Regions from separate parts of the Homo sapiens genome. Here region 1 is linked to region 2. Evidence: promoter capture Hi-C in human tissues and cell types (Jung and others, 2019). All regions are on one chromosome and are shown on one strand. Each heading gives the region's core, a stretch centred on a gene start or on the middle of the fragment in contact. The rest is flanking DNA. Distances are from core to core; before and after follow the strand shown. Region 1 has its middle 130 kb from the start of CCDC201. Region 2 holds the start of RAMP3 (receptor activity modifying protein 3).

Region 1 (6,627 bases), core at 294-2,793, 580 kb after region 2:
GCATTAGGAGAAATATCTAATGTAAATGATGAGTTGATGGGTACAGCAAACCAACATGGCACATGTATACATATGGATCAAACCTGCACGTTGTGCACATGTACCCTAGAACCTAAAGTATAATTTAAAAGAAAAAGAAAAAAAGAAAAAGAGAAATGGCCATAGGAGGGAAGACTTTCTTCTAGGGCATTGAGAAGATTGTCAAGCCCAGATGACAGGCACCACCTTTCCACCTTATGCCTCATTAATGGAAATATCACAATGCCCAGATCAAAGGCAGAGCTTCCCACCTATGAGCCTGCATCTCAATCTTCACCTTCCAGAAACCAGGCAGTGTCTTCTGGGCTGATTACTTCCAGTTTATCTCATTGTGATGTCCAAATATTATAGCTCCCCTCTCCCTTGTGATGAGCATGGAAAATATCGGTGGCTCCAAATTCCGATTGTTTCACCTTAGAAAACAAATCTGAGAACCCCCCTAGCACCAAGCACAGTACCTGGATACAACAGGCACTCAATAAATATTTGCTCAGCCAATGCAAGGATAAATGGATGAAATTCCTCATCCCTGTATTCATTTCTGAAGACCTGCTGGTGAAAATCTAGCTCTAAACATCTTTCAGATTTATTCCATTGAGGTATGAAAAAGGAAAAAAAAATGACGATGCAAACGAACTCAGCAGCTGGCACAGAAAGTGCAGTCAGATTCTGCTTCCCCTGTAATTAAGTGTGCCCCATGCCTCTGACTTAGGCGATGACAGCGTGCAGCTTGCCTGCCTGCCCTGGGTGCCTGGGAGGGCAGGCAGCCTTCAGGATGCCACTATACAACACATTCGCCACCTTATCAAGATTTCCACAGCCACAGGAAGATTTCTCACCCCGCCATGCCCCCCACAGGCTGCCCTGTGCTGTCATGCCCCTTCCTGGCTGAAGACATGCTGGCTGTCCCCTCCGCTCCTCCCCGGAGATGAGCATCTTTCCTGGGCCTCCCTTGGTGTTTTGACAGCTGCTCCATGTCCCCGCTGCTCAGAGAGGGAAAACCACTAGGGAGGCCTTGGATGGAAATATTACTCTCTGTCCAGGGTAGCATGGGCTTGATTGCGCCGGATTATTTCTGATTGTTGTCACTGGGCCAAGAGCACAGCGAAGTCAAGAAAGAAATAGCCTCATTAGTGAGAGTGCAGCGGTCTGGGTAGGCAGCAGTGGCGTGGAGGACCTGCTTTTGCAGGAGCAGTGAAGAGAGGGGAAGGAGTGGTGTCTTTATATTGAGATATTTTGAGATTCCTGGTTTCTCCACTCACTTCAACTGCCCATATAGGTTCTGCAGGTTCCACGAAGTTCTAGAACTTGTACAGGATCGAGCCCACAGCTTCTCATGGAATAAACACAGAATCAAGAAAATCTGGTGGAAGTCGCCTGGTTTAACTCCTTTGAGGTCTAGAGCAGAAATTAAATAGTGCTTAATCTGTTACTTTAAAGAAGCCTAGTTCTAACTTTTCCTCAGCTCGCTCCCTCTTTTGCCTAGGATAGGAAGGGTGAGTGCAAATGGCCAGCTCCCTGTAGGTCTGCCTCTTGGAGCCCTAAGTTTTCCGCCACTTCTCTGCACTACAGGCTTTGCCCACAGTGGGATCCTCAGCCCAGGGACCTTGTTTGTACTCCTCTTGGTGCTGGTGCCTGCTGCCCAGCCACACACCCTGAGATTCATTTTTAAAGAAACATCAACAGCTCTTAAATGGCAAATAAGCCCCTTTCAAAGAGCTGGGATGACTTTGAAAAAGGGCCTGAGACAGCAGTCGACCTCTGACCATCTCCCCTCAGATGCCCTCTCCATCCCACCCTCTCTCCCCGTCCCTGTCCTCTGCTCTCCCAGCGAGCCTGTCTGCTCTTCAACCCTCCTTCCTGCCCGATTGTGCTGTCTCCTCAACACGTCCCATGTTGCTTGATTCCTAAAATAACATAGGGGAAAACATTTTTTTTCTTTGTTCTTTTTTTTTTTGAGACGGAGTCTCCCTCTGTCCCTCTTTCGCCAGGCTGGAGTGCAGTGGTGCAATCTTGGCTCACTACAACCTCCGCCACCTGGGTTCAAGCGATTTCCTGCCTCGGCCTCCTGAGTAGGTGGGACTACAGGTGCGTGTCACCACGCCTGGCTAATTTATTTATTTTTAGTAGAGACAGGGTTTCACCATGTTGACCAGAATGGTCTCAATCTCTTGACCTTGTGATCCACCCACCTCGGCATCCCGAAGTGCTGGGATTACAGGCGTGAGCCACCGCGACCGGCCAAAAACATTTTTTTAAATAAAGAAAATGAATCCTCAAAAAAGAAAAAAAAAAAACCCACAAATCTCCCAAAGCAGTAACTGAAGGATGACCTTTCTATGAAAGAGTATTCATTTTTATATTATCTATTTAAATACTAGACAAGAGAGTGTAGATTAGCTACTACTGAAGCTCATAAAATCTAAAAGTAATTGCCTTTTAGCAATATTACTAAGGTAATATATGAGTTTTTATTAAGACATAATAATACATTTCAGATGACATATCAAGTTGCTTTCAAACTAGGGAATTTTAGAGTAAATTTCTGTTTCTTCAAACTGTCTAGGTGAATGTGGTATTTTGGTTAAACAAATTTTTGCTTACAGCATTTCTATCATATATAAAATCAATACATATGAGATAAATCTACAATAAATACGGGATGATGTCATCATTATTTAATTATTCAAGACACCGAAGATACCCTTAGCTGCTCCATGGATATCCTTTACCAATGTAGTGTTCTTGGATATACACGGTGTGGCAATACTCTGTATTGTCAGTTCTCCCTCTTCCCATCATCTGTTCTATCTCAAACTTCCTATATCTGCCATCATTCATCTTCACCACTTTACTAAAACTCCCTTCTGGGAGACAAACACAAAGGTGTATTGTTGGCTGGGTGTGGTGGCTCATGCCTGTAATCACAGAACTTTGGGAGGCCGAGGTAGGTGGATTGCCTGAGCTCAAGGAGTTTGAGACCAGGCTGGCCAACATGGTGGAACCCCATCTCTACTAAAAATACAAAAATCAGCTGGGTGTGGTGGCGGACACCTGTAATCTCAGCTACTTGGGAGGCTGAGGCAGGAGAATAGCTTGAACCCAGGAGGTGGAGGTTGCAGTGAGCCAAGATCGTGCACTGCACTCCATCCTGGGTATAAGAGTGAGACTCCGTCTCAAAAAAAAAAGCGTATTGTTGTACTGTTTTTATCATTCCTTACATCCAGAAAACCTTTACTGTTACTTCACAATCCAGCTTCTTGAATCTCCCCCTTTGTGAATAAAATGTGATATTCAATTACTCTGATTCATATCGTACTGACATTTCCATGCAATTCTCTGATAGTTCACTCCCCTTAGTCCTAAGTCTGAGTTTTCCAAAAATCTCATCTCCCAGACTTTGTCCCTTGATAAATTCATGTTCTCTTATAGCCACAACAGTTACTTCTAAAGCTCTACCACTCCACTTAGGGCAAGTCAGACAGCTCCCTACTCCTGGCGTATCTGGTGATTGACACTGAACAGTTCAGGCTAATTTGTCAATCTCTCATCAAAGAGTTCAACTGCTTTAGAAACCTTTGTCCCAGCCTTGACATCAAAGCATTCCAACCATGAACATTTTCTTCTTGGTTGTCATTCATTTTTGGTACAAGTATATGTCACAGGTGACATCATACCTCTTCAACTATAAGTTCCCCTTTACAAGGAACACACCATTACCTTTTGTGTCCCAATGCAGATAGCAGAAAATAGGAATTTTAACAAAATTGGTAACTCAAGATTGAAGCTGAGATATGATAAACACTTTTTGGAATAAATTATTGTTACCAGTTTCTCTAAGTGGAGAATAATAAGAATAAACACCTATGCCAATATAAAAAAAGTTTATGTAATTTTTTTCTTTCTTTTTTTTGATACAGAGTCTTGCTCTGTCGCCCAGGCTGGATGGAGTGTGGTGGTACAATCTCAGCTCACTACAACCTCTGCCTTTCAGGCTCAAACCATCCTCCTGCCTCAGCCTCCTGAGTAGCTGGGACTACAGGAATGCAATACCACGCCCAACTATTTTTTATATTTTAGTAGAGACGCAGTTTCGCCATGTTGCTCAGGCCAGTCTTAAACTCCTGAGCTCAAGCAATTCTCCCACCTTGGCCTCCCAAAGTGCTGGGAGTACAGGTGTGAGCCACTGTGCCCGGCCTAATTTTAATTATTATATATTACATATCATCACTACATCCCTGAAAAATCATTAAAGGTTCTAAGGAAGAATACTTACATGAAATGTTTGCATGAATGTGTAAAATAAAGGTAAGGTGAATTTACTAATTGTTAAGCTATTTTTGTTAGTGTCATCTAATGTTTTAGATAATGGATGATTTTCCTTTCACTAAAATCACTTTCACTTCTATATGACTACATAATTCTGATTTTTTCAGGTTATATAAGTCTTTATTTCCATTTAATTAAATATGCTTTAACCTTTTATGATTCATCCCACTCCTCCATTCTCAAAATAATTTGGTAATTAGCAATACAGTTTCCCCACAGTTTCAGGAATTTGTCTCTTCCATTTCCCATTGCTGATACCATAACTCTTTCTGTTCTCCTTTTGTTTTCTTTCCATATTTGATTTCTGAAACACCCATCTCCACACCCTGAAAATATTTGTATAGTTTTCCTCCTTTCCATTGCCTTCTTTGGTTTGCCTGGAGTAATTCAGTTCTCTTAATTAGCAAACACTTCTTTGAACTTGACTCTTTCTTAGAAGCAATCACTATTCCTTTGACCTGAAGATTTCAATTACTTGGGATTTACAGACATCTGCAATACTGGTATTGTATTTCCTTCCTTCAGGTATTTACTAAATATCCACTAGACGCCTTTGTCTTAAAGACATGAGCTAAATTAAATATACATCTTTCTAATACGTATAACTTTAGAATTTTTAGGCATAAAAGGCTTGCTGCTCTGCTGTATTAAATCTTCCTGCAGGCATGGTCAATTTGCTCTGTAATGCTTATACTAGGGAGGACCCTCACTAGCTGCCAGGCTGTGAACTTTCAAATATTCAAAGTAGCCTCTGGGCTGGGTGGGCGTGGTGGCTCATACCTGTAATCCCAGCACTGTAGGAGGCCAAGGCTGGTGGCTCACTTGAGGTCAGGAGTTTGAGACCAGCCTGGCCAACATGCTGAAACCCCATCTCTACTAAAAATACAAAAATTAGCCGGGTGTGGTGGCACATGCCTGTAATCCCAGCTATTCGGGAGGCTGAGGCAGGAGAATTGCTTGAAGCGGGGAAGTGGAGATTGCAGTTAGCCAAGATCGTGCCACTGCACTCCAGCCTGGGCAACAGAGTGAGACTCCATCTCAACAAAGTAGCCTCTGGCTTAGTAACTAGCTTTCCCCTCTACAGTGTTTTAGGTATGTAGGAAATTATTGATTGTATACTTTTAAAATACACAAGAAAAAGTTATAGAATGCCACCATGTCAAGCACTGGACAAGTACCATAGAAGATTTAAAAATAAGAGGAATGCAATGGTAATTAGTATTTATTAAACATTCTCTACTTATATACTGTCATAGCAGATTATATTATTAATAGGTATCCTTTTGAAGTCACACTTTAAGAATGGAAGAGGAAGGGAATAGTTCATAACACAGCCTGAAGTGTTGTATTCTCAAAACCCAGAGGATGACCTTCTCGTGCATTTGCTCTTCTCCCCTAATTGAGGCCTGGCAACCCCAACTGCTCAATCAACCCTGTCATGTAGTTCCTACCAAAAACACCTGCTCCTTTGAAAATAAAAGTCAATTACATGTCAATTTCTTTCATTTCAAAATTCACTCTCATCTCTATTGTATTTCTTGAAGTAGCAGTTTGACTCTCTTAAATTTTCCCCCTCACTTCTCACTTGTGAGAATGACCTTCTTGTTATTCCATGATTTCCAATTATTATCCATATTTATGTTACTACCTTTCTTTACATAGCTAAAGAGATTCTTGCGTTTCGGGAAAGTGGGTAAGAGGTACGAAAATGAATAGATATCAACTTAAGACAGACATCTAAAACTGGAGGTTAAAGAGAGTATGTGGTAAAGGCGTAGAGAAGCAAGAGAGAGAAGCGGGAAATAGGGAGTGAAGTAGAGAGAGGAAGGAATGTGTCTCAAGATGAAAACACTGAGGATCATTTTGATGCCCTTTCTGTTCCTTACCTACTAACATCTCTAGTCCTATTACACTTTTTCTTCATGATTTCCTCTCTGCTGCTGCTTTTCTAATTCATTAGTAAGAGCTCCTCTTTACTAGTCCTGGTCCTCTAATCAGGATGGTCTCAATGTCCTGCTCCCATAGGCTTTCCTTCTCTTTCAGCAGGTGTGCAAGACACAGTGTAGGGATTTTTTTGTCTCACCTGATAGGAAGATTGGTTTTGTTCTCTATGTTCCAGTACATAAAATATGCCCTACTCACCAGCTACCAGGTTGTGTACCTTTTAACATTCAAATTCTAGCTTTTGACTCAAAAACTAGCCTTCCCTTATACAGTTTTCACAAGTTTTTCACATTAAGAAACAAGAAGAGCCTCTTC
Region 2 (6,834 bases), core at 2,105-4,604:
CTAAGCTCAAGCAGTTAGCCCACCTCGGCATCTCAAAGTGCTGGGATTACAGGCATAAGTCACCACACCCATCCTAAAATGCTTGATTTGACGTTAAGTATTTTTTATTGCAATTAAACAAATGAGCAAACAAACGCAACAGGAGATGGAAGGCTGTGTCTTGATCCGTGGGAAGGTGGAAAACAGCTGAGGGTCAGAGGCACCCCTTCCTGGAATCTCCTTCATCACCCTTCTTTGAAGACCGGTCCTCTGTGTCCCTGGAGAGGGGTCACCGAGGCGTTGCTGCTGCCTCAGGGACAGAGGCGTAGTCTCATCGACAATGATACCGTTATTTCAGTGTCTGTCCAGCAGGGGGAGCCAGGTGCCCGGGAATGGCTTCCCTTGGCTCCTTCTCAACCCCCACCCTCCTGAAGTCTAGCCCCAGAGCAAGCAGAACCAGATCCCAAACCTCACCAGGTTCTGTGCTCAGGCCCTTGCCTGGACACGTGGACTCCGGGCAGAAGCATTACTTCCAGGGAGAGTGAAGGCCCAGCGGCCATGTGTTCCCCTGATCTGGTAGAAACACCAGGATGTTATTTCTTCCTCTTAGAAGAGGCCACTTGAGTGTCAAGAAAATGTTCTCTTACAACTATTTAAGAATAAGAGGAATCACAGAATAAATATCATGATAATGGTGAATCAGGGCTTGATCAGGAGAGAGACTACACCGCAACCTGAATGGGGAAGTTTGGTGTAAAGAATTATGAACCGGCCGGGCGCGGTGGCTCACGCCTGTAATCCCAGCACTGTGGGAGGTCGAGGCAGGAGGATCACCTGAGGTCGGGAGTTCGCGACCAGCCTGACCAACATGGAGAAACCCCGTCTCTACTAAAAATACAAAAATTAGCCGGGCATGGTAGCACAAGCCTGTAATCCCAGCTACTCGGGAGGCTGAGGCAAGATAATTTCTTGAGCCCCGGAGGCAGAGGTTGCAGTGAGCCAAGATCATGCCATTGCACTCCAGCCTGGGCAATAACAATGAAACTCCTTCTAAAAAAAATATAAATAAATAAATAAATAAATAAATAAAATAAATAAATAATTATGAACGCTAAGAGGGGATTCCTGAGAGGACCCCAGTGCACACAGGATCGCAGACACAGGGAATGGTGCCGGGGCCAGCACCCACCGAGGGACAAGCAGGGAGACAGGTGCTGTCCAGGGCACACCCCATGGTCAATCTCATTTATGGCGGCAGCCTTTCCACACTCAGGGTCGGGGGGATGCACCGTGGAAGGGGCAGGTCCCTCTCTCCCATGGCTCAGCTCCTCACAGCCTGTGTTAAACCCACCTGCCCTGCAGAGGCCATGGGCACCACTGGGCACAGAGAGGAGAAGTGAGGGCCCTGCCTTAGAGGGACCTAGGGGCAGTAGACACAACTCCCTGGGAGTTTGTTGGGGCATGGTTGGTTCCATGGAGGAGAGGTGTTGGAACCCAACTCTGTAGAATGGCCAGGGCTTCCCCACTGCAGAGCCAGGGTGGGGAGTCCAGGAAAGGGAGCATTGCTCCCTGGTGCAGGCTTGGGGGAACTGGCTGCCCCCCTCCCACCTGACAACCCCATCCTACTGTTCCAGCCTGCAAGCTATGTGCAACCGCCTTTGGGGCTGTGGGACCGAGTGGAGACTAAGACTCTCCTGGAGAGAGCTGTAGGGCCGAGTCTGTGTGGGATGTGGGTGGACACCTGGGCCTGGACCATCCTCTTGGTTTGTCTTGGCTGGTGTAGGGTGTGCGTGTGTGTAAGCCAGCCCCCTGCTGCCCTGGTCAGCTTGTTTTATGACCCCTGGCCTGTGGGCAGAAGGCCTGGCTGTGGGCACCATCAGTCTCACTAGAGGCTCTGTGGCCACCCCTACACCTGCTGCCCACCCCTCAGGCAGAAGGCAGGACAAATGATCAATTTTAATTAGTTTTGACTCCTTTGAATTAATTCTGGCTGTAATCAGAATTTCTTCAGTAAAAAAGCACAGAAAGTTCTTCTCCCGAATAAGGGTCTTGTTAAATAAAGTGGGTCTTTCTAAGCCAGGAGAAGTTCAGCTCAGCTCCTGGGAAGGTAGCAGTACCTACGGCTCAGAGGAGTGGAGGGCCCATCCATGTAGGAGCCTGGGCCTGTGCCCCAACCTCAGACCAGCATGTGCCCCCAGGGGTGGTGGGTGGGCCCTGGAGGGCAGAGAGGTGCCTCTAGCTGGCTCTCGGAAGTCCTGACCAGTGACAATTCTTAAGACACCATTAAGTGTCCACTGGAGCCAGGGCCTGTGCTAGGGGCTGAGGGTGACAGAGGTGACCCATCTGGCCAAGTGACCTGTGGCTGGAGAAACTGAGGCCCTCCTTCGCCTCAGGGACCCTGACACTCTTCAAGGCCAGGTCTTTGGTGGTGCCAGATACTCTCCTGTCCCTTGGTTTGCTTGTGGCTTGGTTCTTGGTGTGTGATACGTCTCTGTGTGTGTAGTTGCCACACCCTCCAGTCTCTCTCATACACACTGTTTCCCAAGCATACACTCACAAACACACCTTGTCTCAGACTCAAACACACACATGCCACACACACACCATACATCACACACTCCATGCACACACATGCATCTACACACACCCCACATGCACATCACACACACGTACTCCATGAACAACACACACACGCACACACACAGACGCACACACACACACCCCCCAACCTCTTTTATGCACTTTCCTGACCTTTGGAGACCTGGCTCCTAGATGTATCTCTGCTCAAAGTTCCCCTCCCTGCCTGGGGGCAGCTCTGGACTCTGGTCTACTTTCGGCCAGGGCACACCTAGCCCACTCCCAGGTCCACCTTCCTCCAGTCTACCCCCAGACTCCTCTAGGCCATCATCAGCCAGCGCTTCATCCTCACCTCAGCTCCCTCCCCGGTCTACCCCCACCCTCTGCCCCTGAGCCTGGACGGAAGTTCCCCAAGTCTCTCCAGCCTGCATCCCAGCCCACCGTCAGCCGGCCCCCACGCTCACCCCAGCTCACCTCCCAGTCTGCCCCTACAATCTGCTCCCAAAAAGCTCCTTTGCAGCTCAGCACCCCAGCCCCGCCCTCAGAGCCCATCAGCCGGCACCCCACCTTACCCCAGCTTGTCCCCAGCTCGAAACCCTGCCCTCGCCCCCCTCTCACCCCGCTGAGACTCCAGCCGCCCCCATCCCTCCCACCCGGCGCGCCTGCAGGGACTGCACCCCACATCTGGAGGCAACGGGGCACGGCCGCAGGCGTGGTCTGGGGGTGCGGCCTGAGGGCGGACCCCCTGAGGCCCCGCCCCACCCCAACCCCAACCGGGCGTCCCCCAGCCGCGCCCCCAGCGGGACCGAGCGTGACCCAGCTGCGGCCGGCCAGCCATGGAGACTGGAGCGCTGCGGCGCCCGCAACTTCTCCCGTTGCTGCTGCTGCTCTGCGGTAAGGGGGCGACGGCCCGCACCGGGGGCGCCCCCACTCCTCGGGGTTCACCGGACCCGGGTGGACCCGCGCCTTCCCGCACCTGCGCCGCGGTCCTTCCCTTGCCCCGGAGCTCGGGAGGGGCGCACAGTGACCCTGGCGGGATTCCCAGGCTCTGCGGGAGGGTTCCACCCGGGAGAAGCTGAAGGCGAAGGACTCTGGCGGGCAAGGGAGGCACAGGGCCCCCTCCGGGGTCTTCTGACGGCAGGGTCCGGCAGCCCCCGGTCCTTCTAGTTGTGATGTCCCCCCACGCCCCGGTTCTGGGGTCGCCTCAGGGTGGGCGAGAAGAGGTGGACCAGGTCTGGCTCTTTACCCCTTATCCCCCAGGGTGGGCTGTCTGTAAGGTAGTGAGCTCTCTGTCCTGGCATTGAGTGCCTGCCCACCACTCACAGGGGCGTGGGCGGGTGGACTCCGGACTGGGTAGCTGGTCCTCCCAGGGCCCCTCAGTGTGTGGACGCCTGTGTGTGTCCTGGAACTGGCTGAGAGGGGAAGCGGGGCGACTCTCTGAGCCATCCTCTCCTAATGCCTTCTTCGGCAAGAAATCAGGACTCTAGGAAGAACCATTGCTCACAAAATGGAAATAGATTAAACTAAAAGCTTGTTTTGAAGTACCTTGCTAAAGAAATTATCCAAGAAAAAGTAAGAGAGAGAGAGAGAGAGAGAATGTGTGTAAAGGCTGTTGGGGAAGAGTGCTTGCTGAGGGCTGGGGTCCACTGAGTGGTGACTGAGCCTGGCCAGTTCTGGGGGGGACATTGGTGATGGAGGGCCCTGGCCTGGTGGTCCCCAGTTTCCCTGGCTGTAAGATGCAGAGTTGGGCCTGTTTTGATGATTTGGGATTTGGTACGGGAGGTGGGAAAAGGGTGGACCAAACTCAGTGGTCATTTTCCTTCCATTGAAGAGGTCTTGGTGTGCAGAACTTGTGTGGCTTCATTTGGTGTTCCAGGGCTGGAGCCTAGGATGTGGTGGATTTTGTGTTGAAGTGCAAAGGTGGATGGCAGCTTCTGAAATCAGGAGCATGCTGATTTGGGATTTCAGCAAACTTCCAGTGAGCGCCCCTTAGGTGGAGATCTTGGTCGCTATAGTGGAAGGAAGGTCCTCTCAATTCATTCTGGGAGAAGCTGAGGCTTTCCTGATCATCTCCAGTATCAAATTGAGAAGGACCACAGGCTTCCGCCTGCACAGAATCCCCCCTTAATAATCCTGTCTCTCGTGGACCCAGTTCCTGAGGGCCACTTCTTTGTCCTGTTGTGTTGGTCCTGACTGTCCCCCTCCAATGGGACATGGGTTCACGCTCCCTGGCCAGAATAGGGACCAGGTCCAGCTTCTCAGCAGACCCTCCCAGTGTTCGACTGGCCAGAGTGAGATTCAGGGAGAGGTAAAACTTGCTCATGGTCCCAGGCCGATGTGTCAGAGGTATCCGGGACTGGAACCCACATCTGCCCTGGATGCTGCTGTGTCTGGAAGGAAGGAGCTGGGTGGGTTCCTCTTGACTGAGGACTAGCTCAGGAGGACCAGCAGGGAGGGTGCAGGCCTCTGGGGCTTCTTTGAGAATTCCAGACCTTTTTCCAGAAAGCATTTGATGCTGTGTGGGGCTGTGGGGATGCGAAGTCCAGCAGTTGTCTACTCAGCAGGACACTTTGCTGTGGTGCCCAGCTCTTGACTGGACTCTTCTGGTCTGGGTGAAAATCCTGATCATGATCCCAAGATTATAAAGCACTCACTGGCCTCAGTTTCCGAGCTGCAATGTAGATGTAATAATAGCAATCTGTAAAGGGCTGCTGAGACCGTCAGTTTGATTCCATTCAGTTTAGTCCCTATCACCTTGTGTTGGGCATGGGATTGTGGGGTGGAAGGGTTCATGCTTAAACAAGGGGAGGTATGGGAAGGCACCCACCAGTGACTGCACTGGGCCTCATGAGGCTCACTCACAGCACCCAAAGATGGAGCACCATAGTGTGTGTGCCTGTGTGTGCAAGCGTATGAACATGGTACCATCGTTTTTATCATTAAATGATGTCCTGCTGCCATGTTACCTGTGGTCATATTGATTCTACTGAATCAAGTGGGCCCAAGGGCCATGGTTGGATAGCAGTAACTCTGGTGAATTAAAGACTTGGAGGTGGCCGGCCGGGTGCGGTGGCTCACGCCTGTAATCCCAGCACTTTGGGAGGCCAAGGCGGGCAGATCTCGAGGTCAGGAGATCGAGACCATCCTGGCCAACATGGTGAAACTCCGTCTCTACTAAAAATACAAAATATTAGCCGGGTGTGGTGGTGCATACCTGTAGTCTCAGCTACTCAGGAGGCTGAGGCAGAGGAATCGCTTGAACCTGGAAGGCGGAGATTGCAGTGAGCCGAGATCATGCTATTGCACTCCAGCCTGGTGACAAAGCGAGACTCTGCCTCAAAAAAAAAAAAAAAAAAAAAAAAAAAAAAAAAAAAAAAAAGACTTGAAGGTGGTGATTGGCCAAGAAGAGGCCCATAGATTTTTGGCACTGGAGGTTCCTTGGAGGTTATCTGACCTCCATGCTCTTACCTATTCTTCATAAGGAAACAGAAATCTGGAGGTTAGAGAGGAAGTTGCCCAACCACAGAGACCAGGGGCAGAACCGCCCAGAATCCACAGCCTCCCAAGGTCGACTGACCGTGGCCCATGGCAGCCACTTGCCAGTCTCGTCGATGCTCTTTCTGTCAAGGAGGGGGAGAGCGCCTGTGTTTCATTTCCAAATGACTAGCCACAAAAGCCCTTTCTGGCGGAAATGCATCTGTTTGGCTGTTTATCATCTCTCAGTGGCGTCTGGAAGTCCCTGAGACAAAAGAAACACAGGCCGGCATGTTCTTTGTTTCCCAATGAAACCAACCAAAATGGATTTCTATTTTGATTCAGTTCCTGCGACCTTTACTAATGCAGCCAGTAGCTTGATTGGCAATGGCCCTCTTTTGTGGTGTTGCCAGGAATCTGTCTTTACACCATTGTTCTAACATTGGGTGGGTTGTCAGGTTTTGCTGGGAGCCCCTCAAGCCTCATGTGCACTAGAAATGAGCTCCCTGGGGAGGGCACTTGGTTTCTCAGGGTGCCTGCCTTGTGCAGGCCCAGGGCTGGTGCTGTCACAGGCATCCTCATAGCACCTCCGTGGGTAGAGGAGTTATCCCAGAACACCTGCCTGAGGATGGCATGTGGTCCTCAAAGGCACATTTACAATCTGCCTGAGCCAGGTCCTTGCGATGGGGCATGTGAAGATTATGGAGTATGTAGAGATTTGGGGCATGCAGAGATTCAGGGAGGGGCATGTTGTCAGGGACCCCTCCTTCTCTTTTTAGATAGCTGTGCGACCTGGGTGGGTAT

Evidence for each region. The method cuts DNA at HindIII sites, captures the fragments that hold promoters and counts their contacts. A contact is called where the count stands out against the background at its distance.
Region 1: a fragment that was not itself captured here is called in contact with the fragment with the promoter of RAMP3 in region 2 in 1 of the 25 tissues and cell types used here (dorsolateral prefrontal cortex).

Annotation. Positions count from the first base shown.
Region 1 is chr7:45,738,079-45,744,705 of GRCh38, forward strand. It overlaps the pseudogene SEPTIN7P2. Among named protein-coding and RNA genes, the nearest start is that of CCDC201, 130 kb to the right of the region's middle. The HindIII fragment of the contact is 7,260 bases long and covers 1-5,173 here.
Region 2 is chr7:45,154,437-45,161,270 of GRCh38, forward strand. It overlaps RAMP3 (receptor activity modifying protein 3), which reads left to right and starts at 3,355. Exons shown (of 3, transcript NM_005856.3): 1 at 3,355-3,450. The coding sequence starts at 3,393. The HindIII fragment of the contact is 28,590 bases long and covers 1-6,739 here.